2 separate regions of the Homo sapiens genome follow, and region 1 is linked to region 2. The links are contacts of gene promoters, found by promoter capture Hi-C in blood cells and fetal thymus (Javierre and others, 2016). All regions are on one chromosome and are shown on one strand. Each heading gives the region's core, a stretch centred on a gene start or on the middle of the fragment in contact. The rest is flanking DNA. Distances are from core to core; before and after follow the strand shown.

Region 1 (6,263 bases), core at 1-2,500, about 19 Mb before region 2:
ACCTGACATGCCAGGGCTGAGCAGGTACGAAATACCTTGGCATTCCTGCCTTGTCGGAGTCTCAGGGCACCTACGAAGGAGGCAACGGGCCTATTTCCCTTTACAGGACACCTTCAGGACACGGGTTTTAACCTGCTCAGGGTCTCATCGCCTTTCCCAGCCAGGCCAGCGGCCAGAGTGACACTGTCCCCCAGGGTTTAACTTAGAGTCCATTCTACCTCTCATTTTCTCTAAAAAACCCCAACCAACCAACTAACCAAATTCTACACGCTGCATATTTTAAAAGCATTTCAAGGTTTATCCTTTAAAACGGAAGGAGGACCTGGGAGGCCGAAGCGGGTGGATCACGAGGTCAGGAGTTCGAGACCAGCCTGGCCAACATGGTGAAACCCCGTGTCTACTAAAAATACAAAAATTAGCCGGGCATGGTGGCACATACCTGTAATCCCGCCTACTCGGGAGGCTGAGGCAGGAGAATCGCTTGAAACCGGAAGGCGGAGGTTGCAGTGAGCCGAGATCGCGCACTGCTCTCCAGCTTGGGCAACAACAGCAAAACTCCGTGTCAAAAATAAAAAAAAAAAAAAAAAAAGAAGGAGGAAATATTTCTCAAGTAGCGACTGCAACTTCCATAGTCAAATTTTCATTCCAAGCTATAAATGGAGATGACTGTCCACTTTTCAGGACAAAAAGCTTCTTGCAAAAGTAGAAGAGCAAAAGCAAAATCCTCCACTAGAAAGCGCCCCCATCTCTAATCTGTAACAGTGAGAGCCTCAGGACGAGTTCCGCAGACGCTCATTTAAAGCAAACTTTTTCAATGACCTTGAGGGTGGCTGTACTTACACGCGGAGAAGCAAATCGACCGCAGCTGGAAAGGCGCTGGGTCGAGCGTGAGAGGAACACGGGTTTTACCTAAGGGAGAGTGGAAGAGAGAAGGGGGTTCCCCAAGGGCCCCGGCCCCTTCGCCTCGTTCGGGCCCCGCGGCCAAGCTCCTCGCACCGCAGCCCCGGCTGTGCAGAAGCGGAGGGGCGGAAGGTGCTCTCAGAACTTTCATTTTCCACCCTGCAGCAGTCCCGAGCCTCGGCTGGAGAACTCGGATGCTTGCGAAACGGCGAGGTCCAGCAGGGGCGGGACGGGGGCGGTGGGCGGAGGAGGATAGGGCGGGGCCGCGGCGGTGAAAGGGCCCGGGGGCGGGGGCGGGGGCGGGGCGAGGCGAGGCCGCCGCGGTCCGGGCCCCCGACGTGGGCTCCGTGCTCTGCACCCAGCTCCTTCCCGGGCGCGCACACGCGCTTCCTCTCTTGAGCTCCCGGGCGTCCGGAGGCGAAGGTCCCGGAGCGTTCACGAGAATCCGGGTCCCGGCGAGTCCGGGGTCCGCTCCTCCAGCTGCGCCCAGGGCGCACGAGCCGGCCAGCCTCGGGGAGAGGGCGCGGGGGCGCTGGGGGTTCTTACGGGAAGATGAGGAAGCCCGACAGCAAGATCGTGCTCCTGGGGGACATGAACGTGGGGAAGACGTCGCTGCTGCAGCGGTATATGGAGCGGCGCTTCCCGGACACGGTCAGCACGGTGGGCGGCGCCTTCTACCTGAAGCAGTGGCGCTCCTACAACATCTCCATCTGGGACACCGCAGGTGAGGCCGGCGCCGCATGAGCCACACCGCCCTGGGGCTCCGCCGGGGACGGGGGGCGCGGGGCTTCCAGCAGGGCACCCGGCCGCGCACAGGGTCCCGGCCTCGGACAGCAAATGCCTCCTTCTCGGGGTTTCCCACTCGTCCTCCCTTGCTGGTTGGGCTGAGCGCTGCCTCTCAGCCACTCAGTGACCTCAGGGACAACCCAAGTTGCAGAGAACCCGCTGGTCATTTGTGTACCTAAGCTGCCTTTGCTCCCGAGCCCCGCGTTCCTGCTCTGCCGCCCTGGGAACCAGAGACGCTCCTCTGTGGCTGCTTTGTTAGGTATTTTCAGTTTTCACGTACCCGTAGGAACATGATATCCTTTGAGATTCACTTGAGGGGTGAGCAGAGCTGGTGTTATTAGCCCCTTTCTAAGAAAAAGTAAAATGAGGCACAGAGTGTTCCCCCCTGTTGGGTTTAGTCAGGAGAGAGGAAATAAAACTGGAGCCTCCGGACCTCTTAGCCCGGAGCATATCTGCCTTTTACAGTTAATCTTCTGCTTGATCTTGGCTCAGATACGTCATATGGGTTTGGGTTGGAGTGACTTCCGGTGGAAGCATTTTTAAGATAGGTAATGAGTTATTTTTATTGTGTAGTATTTGTGACTTTTCAAAAGTACAACTTAGAGGATCTCAATTCAGGCTTTCTGTTTAACTTTGGAAAATAACACTGGTGATTGTAGCATTGCAATGGAATATATTTCCTTCTCCTTACAAAAGAATAAGATATTGTAAGTGAATGAAGAAACTGGAAATAGTGTGACACATTTTCAATGAGTGTGAGTTTTTAGAAGCCTGAAACTCTGAAAGTTCTGACTTCTTTTATGTTAGCATCTTAAAAAGTCATATACCCAAAGGCCCCGTCCAGAATTCTTAAATTGCCATCTTGGGTGTATCAGTATGCTGAATAAACAAGATGATAATGAATTCTCTCTTTAAAACTGAATTAACGAAGCTCACAGAGGTACTTCCAGTTCTCCCCCTCCCTTTTGCCTTCTTTGATGCTTTTTTATTATTATCCCAGTTAACATCGTGACTAATTTATTGGCAATCATCTTGTGAAAACAATGTCCCCCAGGTAAAGAGGTGCATTTCCCTGATCTTTGCTCCAACTCTGTCTTCTGCCTCAGGCTGCAGGATGAGGTTTACTGAGCTGACTCCCTCACACTGAGCATTTGGTAACGATGGAACACACGCTCTAGAAGTCAAATCGAACCCAATTCACGAACCCAATTTGCTTCTGTACAAAGTCAAATTGAACCCAATTTGGTTTTGTACAAAGCTTTGCCCCTCTGCTGCTTTTGCTGGTTGGCTGGGATTTACTGCTGCCCTTGGTTTACAAGTAGCAAGGTTAATGCAGGAGTGTTATTGGGGGACCCTAACCGAAACCCCTGTAGTGGCCACCGTTGGAGGCAGACTCTTAACACACGGTGTGTTTCTGGAACAAGAGCTGCCCTGCAGTGCTGGAACGGCCCCTGCATCGGAGGGAATGAAGCAGCAGTTTCGTTTCCACTGGCCTCTTGCTTCTTCAGCACCAAGGACGTGATGCAGCCGGAATCCTGATCACCAGAGATTTTGCAGTTGTGCTGATGTGACGCCCCAGATGTCTTGAAGCGTTACTGGGGGGCAGCAGCTCATTTCCTGGCATCCGAGGCTGCTGCTGCTTGTTCGAAAGATCCTAAGGGTGAATTACTAGAGCTCCTCAGAACAGAGAGTGGCCAGGCCCCTTCTCCACATTCCTGACTTCCTGTGTACACACTCAGGCGGCCCTTGCCCAGAGTTGGCAGGGACACAGGGCACCCTTGCCTGCCTCCTCGGTGGCCTGTGGCCTGACCGGGTACTTGAAGGGAAAAGAGAGGTAGGAACAGATACCTTTTCTATAATTGTTGGAAATTCAGAATTTAACATTTAGGGGACCCTGTTCTTTTCCTTCTTTTGCTGAGCTCCTAAACTTTCTCTCCACCCCACAGACATTGCTTTTCAAGTTGTTTTTGTTGTAATTGTCATAACCGAGGCAGAATGGTAAGGACCAGCCGGAGGAGGAACCATTTTGAAAGTTGCTTTTAGCCACACAAGGCAGGGTGGGCTGGGGTGGGGGTGCAGGTGTGCAGAGGGCGACAGGATGTTTAATAGTAAAAACGATTGCATGGGGGTCAGTGTACACCCAATGCCTGGCTGCTTGTAGCCTGCAAGGCAGGCAGTGGATGGAGCTGAAGAGGGGGAAGAGAGTTGGCAGGGCAGAAGTACATTACCCTATTCCATTGACACAACAGTCCTCCAGAGGGAGGTGTGATTATTTGCATGTTAAAGATGGGGCCAGGCGTGGTGGCTCATGCCTGTAATCCCAGCACTTTGGGAGGCTGAGGTGGGTGGATCACGAGGTCAAGAGATCAAGACCATCCTGGCTAACATGGTGAAACCCCATCTCTACTAAACATACAAAAGTTAGCAGGGCGTGGTGGCGCACACCTGTAGTCCCAGCTACTCGGGAGGCTGAGGCAGGAGAATCGCTTGAACCAGGAGGCAGAGGTTGCAGTGAGCCAAGATTGTGCCACTGCACTCCAACCCGGTGACAGAGCGAGACTCTGTCTCAAAAAAAAAAAAAAAAAAAAAAACAGATGGGAAGACAGGGCTGCGCGGTGGCTCATGCCTGTAATCCCAGCACTTTAGGAGGGTGAGGCGGGCAGATCACCTAAGGTCAGGAGTTCAAGACCAGCCTGGTTAATGTGGTGAACCCGTGTCTACTAAAAATACAAAAATTAGCTGGGTGTGGTGGCTGGCGCCTGTAATCCTAGCTACTTGGGAGGCTGTGGCAGGAGAATCGCTTGAACCCTGGAGGCGGAGGTTGCAGTGAGCCAAGATTGCGCCATTGCACTCCAGCCTGGGTGACAAGAGTAAGACTCTGTCTCAAAAAAAAAAAAAAAAAAAAGTGGGAAGACAGCAGAAGTTAAGTGGGATTTAGACCTTGGTTCATCCAACTCCAACTCACCTTGTCTCATTATGCCCTTTTAGGGGGCACTTGCCACTCCCAGCCCTTGTCTAATTGGGCACACAGATGTGGAGTGGTTGCTGTGCATGGGTGGGTACATCCAGGAAGCAAAAGGAGGTTGCCCAGCGAGGAGGCAGAGCCCTAGAAGACGTACTGCTGTGCTCCTCTGTGTTGCCCGGTTGCTCAGGACAGCCTAAAGTGGTGTTGCCTGTTGTTGGCAAATATAAACTGAGGCTCCCCGGTGCCGGGCACTGTTTGGGCCCTCGTTCTACAGCAGTGAGCAGGCCGGCTGGCCGCTGCCCCGCAGGCCCTGGATTCCAGAGGAGGGGGAAAGGCAGGCAAGAAGTGAATGGTACAGCTTCACATCTGATCGTTGCTCTGAAGAAAATACGACAGGCTGATGAGAAAGCGGCTGGTGTGCCCAGCACAGACCTGGTCCCCAGAGCCCTGGAGACAGAATGCTCTCCACATTTGTTTTCCTTCCCTTCTAAAGGCCGTGGCCTGGCGGCCGGGAGGCGGGGGGAGCAGGGGCATTACCTGACTCACGTTTGCATCCCCAGCACCTGGCCCTTGAAGAGCCAGCTTGGAAGGCGGCGGGGAGCCCAGACTTGCGCCACTTCCCTGTGCCGGCATCCAGCTCCAGCTGCGTCTCTGGGGACTGGGTGTTGGAGAGAGTGAGTGCATTTTGCATGTGGAATGGATGCACGTCTGTGGGAGCCTGAAGCCAGGCTGTGACAGACAGAATAGTGGCCACCGCAAAGATGAGACATCTTGGTCTCTTGAGAGTCCTCTGGCCTTTGGGTCCTTCTGAGGCACCAGCAGAAGGTTATGTGGCCACACCAGGGCCTCCTCTCCAGCACAGGCGTTCCGGATGGTGGGCCTCCTAGTGTGAGCCTCCCAGCAATCTGCCTGACTGAGGACTTCCCACATCACCAAGTCCTGCTCCTCTTTGTTCGACAATTCTTCCCTCATCCTATCTGTTCTTCCTCATCTTAATATAAACAGCAAGAAAAATCCACACCTTCAACACTTTGCTTGGAAATCTCCTCAGCTACATATCCAACTTCATCACACAGTGATGCTTCCCTCACAGCTGTGGGGCACGACTCAGCTGAGCTCTCTGGCACCACATCCTCCCTCCTCCAGCTTCTGATAACACAGTCCTCATTCAGACCCCAGGCTTCCACCTGTAATTGGCTCCTTCTGGTGGAGGTGTTCACTACGAGGATGCAGGTTTTCTCTGCTATGCTTCTCGCTTCCTTCTGATTCCTCACCAGCAGGGCTGTTCATGTGCACCTTCCTGCCAACCATCTGTTTAGGCCAATCCGGGCTGCCCTCTCATGATCCTCAGATCCTCCCAGATCTGCCATTGCCCAGTTCTAAAGCCACTTCCATATTCGTGACAGCCTCTCTCTGCTCCCAGTTCCAAAGTCTGTGTCAGTTTCCTATTGCTGCTATAACAAATTAGTTACTTAAAACAACACAAATTTGCTGGGCATGGTAGCTCCTGCCTGTAATCCCAGCATTTTAGGAGGCTGAAGTGAAAGGATCACCTGAACCTAGGAGTTCAAGACCAGCCTGGGCAACACAGGGAGACGGTTTCTACAAAGAA
Region 2 (6,195 bases), core at 1,002-3,501:
AAATTAGCAAATCCGTACTTAATGAGTTAGTTTTTCAGAAAAGGTACATTGTCTAAAGAAAGAAACACCTACTTTTACTCTCTAAGAAACCAATCCTATTTATTCAACTTTAATAGCAAGAAAAATTTGTTTTTAAGAAAAGTTCAAGAAAATCAGAATACACTTACCCATTCCAGAAAACTTCCTTTTCAGCAAGTATTCTCAGAAAAGCTACTGGTGCAGTTAGGTCCACGTGTATGACTGGAATAGGGAAAAATAAGGAAAAAAAAGATAAAACATTATTTGCTCAAAATTACTACCACCGTCCAAATCTATATTTGCTATTTTCCAACCTCCTAACAGCAATTAATTCCATCCATTTGTGAGAGTAAGAGTCGAGCAATACTAGCAGGATTTAAAAGCCCAATAATTTACAGTTGAAAAATACGTAAGAGAATAAAGTTGAAAAATCCTTAGCTATCAGATACATGTCTAAATAAGCTCCTAAAATACTTGATTATGATCAGCAGCAATCACCGACTCCACTGTACAGCTCCAGTAAAAGGAAAAAAAAAAAGCAGCCCACAGACTATTCTTCACCACCCCTCCCCCAATCAAGACCTCGTGGCTGCAAGCCGGGATAAAGAGTTGTTTCTCCAACTGCTGTGGTCCTGATGGCATGCCGTTAATTTTCTCTTTTGGTGATATTGCAACGACGAGCCTGCCTTTTTCAGTTCCTTTTCCCTTTGCTGCAGTTTAGGAACAGAAGACCGGGCAGGAACACCCGAGACTGCAAAGTGCCCGCCACGCTCATGGAGCCCGGGCCGGCAGCACATGTCGCACAAGGGGGAGCGCGGCCCTGCGATTCTCCGCGTAGCCGCCAGGGGGCGGCGGGTCAGAGTCAGGCCCCGCCGGACGCGGCAACCCCCCCAACCCGTTTCCCGGCGGCAGCCGCGCGGCGACCGGCGGCGCCGAGGCCCGAGTGCGGCGGGGACGCGGGCGCGCCGCCCCTCCTTTGTGTCCCCCAGCCCCCCCGAGCCCGGCCCAGAGGGGCGGGGGCTCCGCGGCCGCGGTGCCCGTCGCACGCGGCCCGAGGCCTAAGCCGGGAACAATCGGCGGCGGCGCGCAGTCGCCGCCATGTCCCCCGCCCTCACCCCCGTGCAGCCCGCCCCGCAGGAACATGGCGGCGGGGACGCCGCTCCCGCCGAGCCGGGCTGGCCCTCCCGCGCCACACTCCCAGCAAGCGGCCGGGCGCAGGCGGCTCCACGCCGCGGCTGAGGCCGACTGCGGCCTCCTCCGAGGGCCACGGCGGGGAAGTTGCGGGCCCCGCCCCGAGGCTGCCCACGCGGGCTAACAAAGCCCACGCGGAGCGGGGGTGGCGCCCAGGCCGCGCCGATCTCGGCGCCCCTCCGCCCACCCTCGCGCGTACAAAGTTTGGGGAACCGCGGGCTCCCGCCCACGCCACGCCGCCCGCTGGCGCGCAGGTACCTCGTGGGCGCGCCCCCTCCCGGCCCGCGGCCTGCCCCATGTGCCGCCGCCGCCGCCGCTTTGTTCTGGAGGCGCTTTAACTCTCGCCCTCGGGAGAAACTTTCCTACCCAGAGACCCCACGCCCCGCGCGCGCCCCGGGCCCCGGAGAAGGCACGGGCCTCGCACGTCCTCTCCCCGAGGGGCCATTGTGTTCGCCGTCCGCCCACCCGCCTTCGGGTCGGCCCAGGCAGGGTCTGCGCGGGTCCCGGGCGCGGCCGCCACGCGCACGCCGCCCCCTCCCACCCTCCCGCCCCGGCCCTGCCCCCCTCCGCCGGCCCGCGGGCGAGCGAGGGGGCAGCCAGATGCGGCTGCCACACGCCGGGGCGGCCAACGGCCGAGACCCGCCCCGGCCACGCCGCCGCCGCCACGCTGCCCCGGGCCAGTCCGCCCCGGGCCGCTCCGCCCCGCCCGCCAGACCCGGGCCGCACACAACAGGTTTCCCTCCGTCGCCGGAGGGGCGGGCAGACTCACCAGGAGGAGTAGCCGCCACCATCTTCGGCTGGCCGGCCGCGGGCTCCTGCTCCCGCCTCCCCGCCCGCCTGCGCTTTACTACGACCGGAGGCCCCAGGCCGGGGGTGCGGCCGGCCGGCCCGCCCCGCGAGGAGAGCTTCGCGGAGGAGCGCGAGCCCCGGCGGCGCTGCGGTAGTCGTCCCCACCCCCTCGGCCTCGCCCGAGGGCGCGAAGTGGCGCGAAGGCGCAGGTCGGGCGGCGGCGGCGGCACCTCGAAGGACCATGTGGGTGAATGAAGGGCGGCGGCTCCCGCCTCAACGTAAATACGGACAAGCCCCACTCCCTCATTAGCATAAAAAACAAAGTACTTCCGACCTCCCCGCCCGCCCGCCAATCACCGCAGGCCCCGCCCACGGCGGCTCGTTCTTGGCGGCCGGGAGAGCGGGAGCCGGGAGCCGCTGGCGGCGCCGCGCAGCCTTCCCCGGGCCGCGCTCCCCCGTGGCCCGCCCACCGCCGCCAGCCTCGCGGAGCGCCTCGCCCGAACACCTCGCGCCACGCCTCCGGCACGCCCTCCGTTAACAAGCTCTGCGCGCGTGCAGACCCCCGCGCGCCGCACACCCTCCTGGAAGCGCACGCTTCCCGGGGCTTCCTGGGAGCCCTGCTCTCCCTGGGACTCGACGTGTACGCTGTGCGATCACAGTTTATTACTTTACCGGCCCTTGGTGGGTTTCCGAGGTAATTAGGGGCCTGCTCCAGGCCAACCGGAACCAGAGAAGTAAAATCCAGTGACTTTAACATCGAAACAGAATTACTCGCTGCAAAGATCGTTTGAGACCCAGAAATAAATACATTACACCCGACACTCTTGTGAATGCACACTTCGTGGCAATGTGTTTCCTTAACCTGGCCGCGTGTAAACCAAAACGCATGCCCGAGCAGAGGTTTCACAGCTGCAGTACCTGAGCCTCCCCTCTCATGCCCAGCTGCATTTAGTAAGAACTCTGGGTTCTCCAGTAGAAATAGCATAGCTCGGAAAGAACCTCATAAACAACCACAAAGCTGAGAAAAGAAGCCCAATCAGGAGCACCTCCTTCTTCACATTGTGGTTCAGGAAATTCCGGAATTCTCAGAAACATAATTGTTAAAAGTGAGGATTCATAACATTTACGAGAAATACAGCAATTATAAATTGGTTTAAATCTAGTAAGTAGCTACTGCAAAGCACATATCACTGGTTCGTGATTGTACAAGTCAACTGTAAAACACACATTACCAAAGGATGTCTTTAATGCCCCAATGTTAAAATTTTTGACATTCAAACCTTGACAGTATTGTCATTTACTGTCTTTGACTTATTTTATCATGCTTTGCTTAAATCCAATTGTCAAACTAGTGATGACATAAAAAATAGTGGATTAAAGTTTTGCTACTCTTTTTTTTATTGAGTCTAGTTTCTAGATATTCCTTTCTTTGTAAATCAAAATAAAAGGCCAAATCTGAAATTTTACAATATCTAATATTTCTGTAATATAGTCATTTATGAACGTTTCAAAGAGGAAAACACTGCTAATTTTATTACAAGTCTAATTTTACGTTACTTTTGGTCGGCATTGACTAATATGTCAATGCCTTTTTCTTTAAAACTTTATCTTCTGTTTCAAATTAGAATGGTTGAGGCGGGGGGATGTTGTGAGTAAGATTGTTCATCACACTCTCTGAATCATGGGAAATCCCACCTATATACAGGTTTCTTAGCAGGAGTTATTCATCTCATAGTTTCCTTCCAATTAAAGTCAACATTGAAATACTACTAGCTTTAAAAAGCTGTTTTTAGGTATCTCACTATATTTCTGTGGAAATCTGACATACAAGCAACTATTTTCTGTGACTACAGTATAAGAAATAATTCTTAATGTATACCCTTTTTTATGGTAATCAGGATTTTGGAAGACGCAAATTCATTTAAACCTACTGACTTGGAAATTCCAGAAAGTTTCAGAATTAGTAGGTTGCATTTTAAGGGTTTCGCTCATACTTCCTTTCAAAATTAATAAATTATCTTAAGTATAATTAGAATAATTGAAAACGTTTTAATCCCAAATGAATTTGAAGCTTAGCCAACTTGATGTTTTTTGGAAGTCACTACTAGTGAGAAACCTATCTTCCCTGATTTTAGGGGCCACACTTGGGTATACTTGATAACTAAAGGGAAGATTTTTGTGGTTATAATTTTGAAGATCACAAAAATATGTGAACTGCTAACAAATGCCTTCTGCAACCAAGGAATGTAAAAATAAAGCAATCTGAAATGCCAAAGTGAGACACACAGCCTTCTCAAGTCAGCTAAAACACAGTACTGTTTTACACAATCCAGAACATTCAGAACGTTTTAGATAAAATGAAAAGCTCAGTTCAACGTCAGAGCAGTTCTATATAGCCCTCAGTTTACATGATATATAGAAAGTAATAGAGAATATCTGTATTTTTTACTTTTTACCCATGTGTTTCGGTCTTATAGATGTTATGAATTAAGAAGATCTGAAAAGTTATTGACCTTGTAAATAATATTGAGGATTTTATTTCCTACCTTTTATTGTTTAACTATGTCAGTATCAACTGAGTTAAATGTGTTGAATTTTTGAAAGATAAATTCAGTTAAAATGTTGTGTTTTAGCATAATTATAGAATTTAAGAAACTAATAAAACAATAATCACATTCACATTATAGATGTGAAAACATAGGAATGATGCAAGAATCTAAGTTAAAGACAACTTCTAGTGTTATTTTAAACCTGTATTTATATATAATTTAAATAGTAATTCAGAGGGTCTAAAAATTGGCTAAGCAATTAAGTATATTTCATATTTTTGCGAATTGGCATTTTTAACATAGATGCCTATAAGTATGTATTATTTTCCCACAGCATTTGTATTTTACGGAAAAGGAATACAAATTTAAACACCACGTTGAGTTCAGAAAGTGAACTGGTTATAAACTGAGAACATTTTGGACTCTTGTAATGTAGCAAACAGTAATCAATAACACACATTCAATGATGAAATTTGGGATTTTTTTTACAATATATATCTATAAATGTCTGAAAAGACACAGTCTAGTCCTCCCATATTAATTATGTTTTCCATTGAAACTGTTCGGTCCACTTTAGCAATTATGTATTATGTGTCTGCTATGCTTGCACTGGTCAAAGATATAAGGAGGGATAAGACAGAACCCGTGTCCATGAAAAGTTTAGGAACTCCAGAATATTATTGATTACCACGAATCTTTCACAAATAAGCTGAAGATTTCATGTCTTCAACCTTTTTTTTTTTTTACTTGTTCCAATGTCTAATCCAACTGTTATTCTGATGGCAGGTTATTTTACATCCTTAATTTAGAATTTAGAACATCTGCATTTTGTTTATGGTAGTAGATAATCCTGCATAACATGAATATATGAATTATTCACTACAAATGACATTCCAAGATGCTACTAATGACAATAAATTTATAGTGAACACAAAGACCATAATCATTTAACCTGATAGACTTAAGGTTTTGGAATTAAGAAATTATAAATTATAGAGGGAAAAATGAACGTGTGTGGTTTTGAATAAAGAAGCAATTTGAAAAAATTACTCTGTTTTCATATCTTTGAAGTTGTTACTGTGGTACTCTGTAGAACCAGATGGGTATAATTATTATTTAATTAAGAAAAATAGACAGAATAGGTATTATTTGTCACAATAAAGAGGATACAGTCTCTACCCTTAAGGAAGTTTGCTATGCATTGATGTCTATCAGTATATGTAAAGTGGTATGGCTTTTATAAAACTAATACATTTTGAATTTAAACATTTAAAGGCAATATATTGTTATGGTACATCGTGGTAAAGTGTTTCACTAGTTTTTCATTTGTTTTCACTAGAAGAATGAAACATCAAAATTGGAAATGGCTTATTTTCAATTTCTTGTTCTTAACTCAGTGGTTCCCAGCCCAGCTGTACTTTACAATCAACCAAGAGCCTTTGAAACATGCAAATGTGTGACCCTTACTTGCAGATATTCTAATTTAGGTGGTAAGAAGTGGGGCCAAAATCCTTTTCAAAAAATTCCCTGGTCATACTTATATGAATCACGACTGACAAGCTCTGGTACTTAGTTCTTGAATGAAATAAAAATGTTTGATTAATCATTACTATTAGCTGATTAATCTTGATAAATGTTTGTGCCTGTT

What was found. The method cuts DNA at HindIII sites, captures the fragments that hold promoters and counts their contacts. A CHiCAGO score of 5 or more calls a contact.
Region 1: a contact is called between the fragment with the promoter of RAB20 here and the fragment with the promoter of MIR17HG in region 2, in 1 of 17 cell types (non-activated CD4 T cells). The highest score is 5.0, in non-activated CD4 T cells.

The regions. Positions count from the first base shown.
Region 1 is chr13:110,556,709-110,562,971 of GRCh38, reverse strand. It overlaps RAB20 (RAB20, member RAS oncogene family), which reads left to right and starts at 1,250. Exons shown (of 2, transcript NM_017817.3): 1 at 1,250-1,624. The coding sequence starts at 1,453. RefSeq lists silencers at 1,121-1,570, 1,462-1,651, 1,631-1,690 and enhancers at 4,532-5,054, 5,055-5,578. The HindIII fragment of the contact is 2,254 bases long and covers 693-2,946 here.
Region 2 is chr13:91,343,743-91,349,937 of GRCh38, reverse strand. MIR17HG (miR-17-92a-1 cluster host gene) reads right to left here and starts at 2,251. Exons shown (of 3, transcript NR_197388.1): 1 at 1,979-2,251; 2 at 168-240. RefSeq lists enhancers at 118-665, 666-1,213, 2,683-2,762 and silencers at 763-1,752, 1,803-2,582. The HindIII fragment of the contact is 6,871 bases long and covers 1-4,071 here.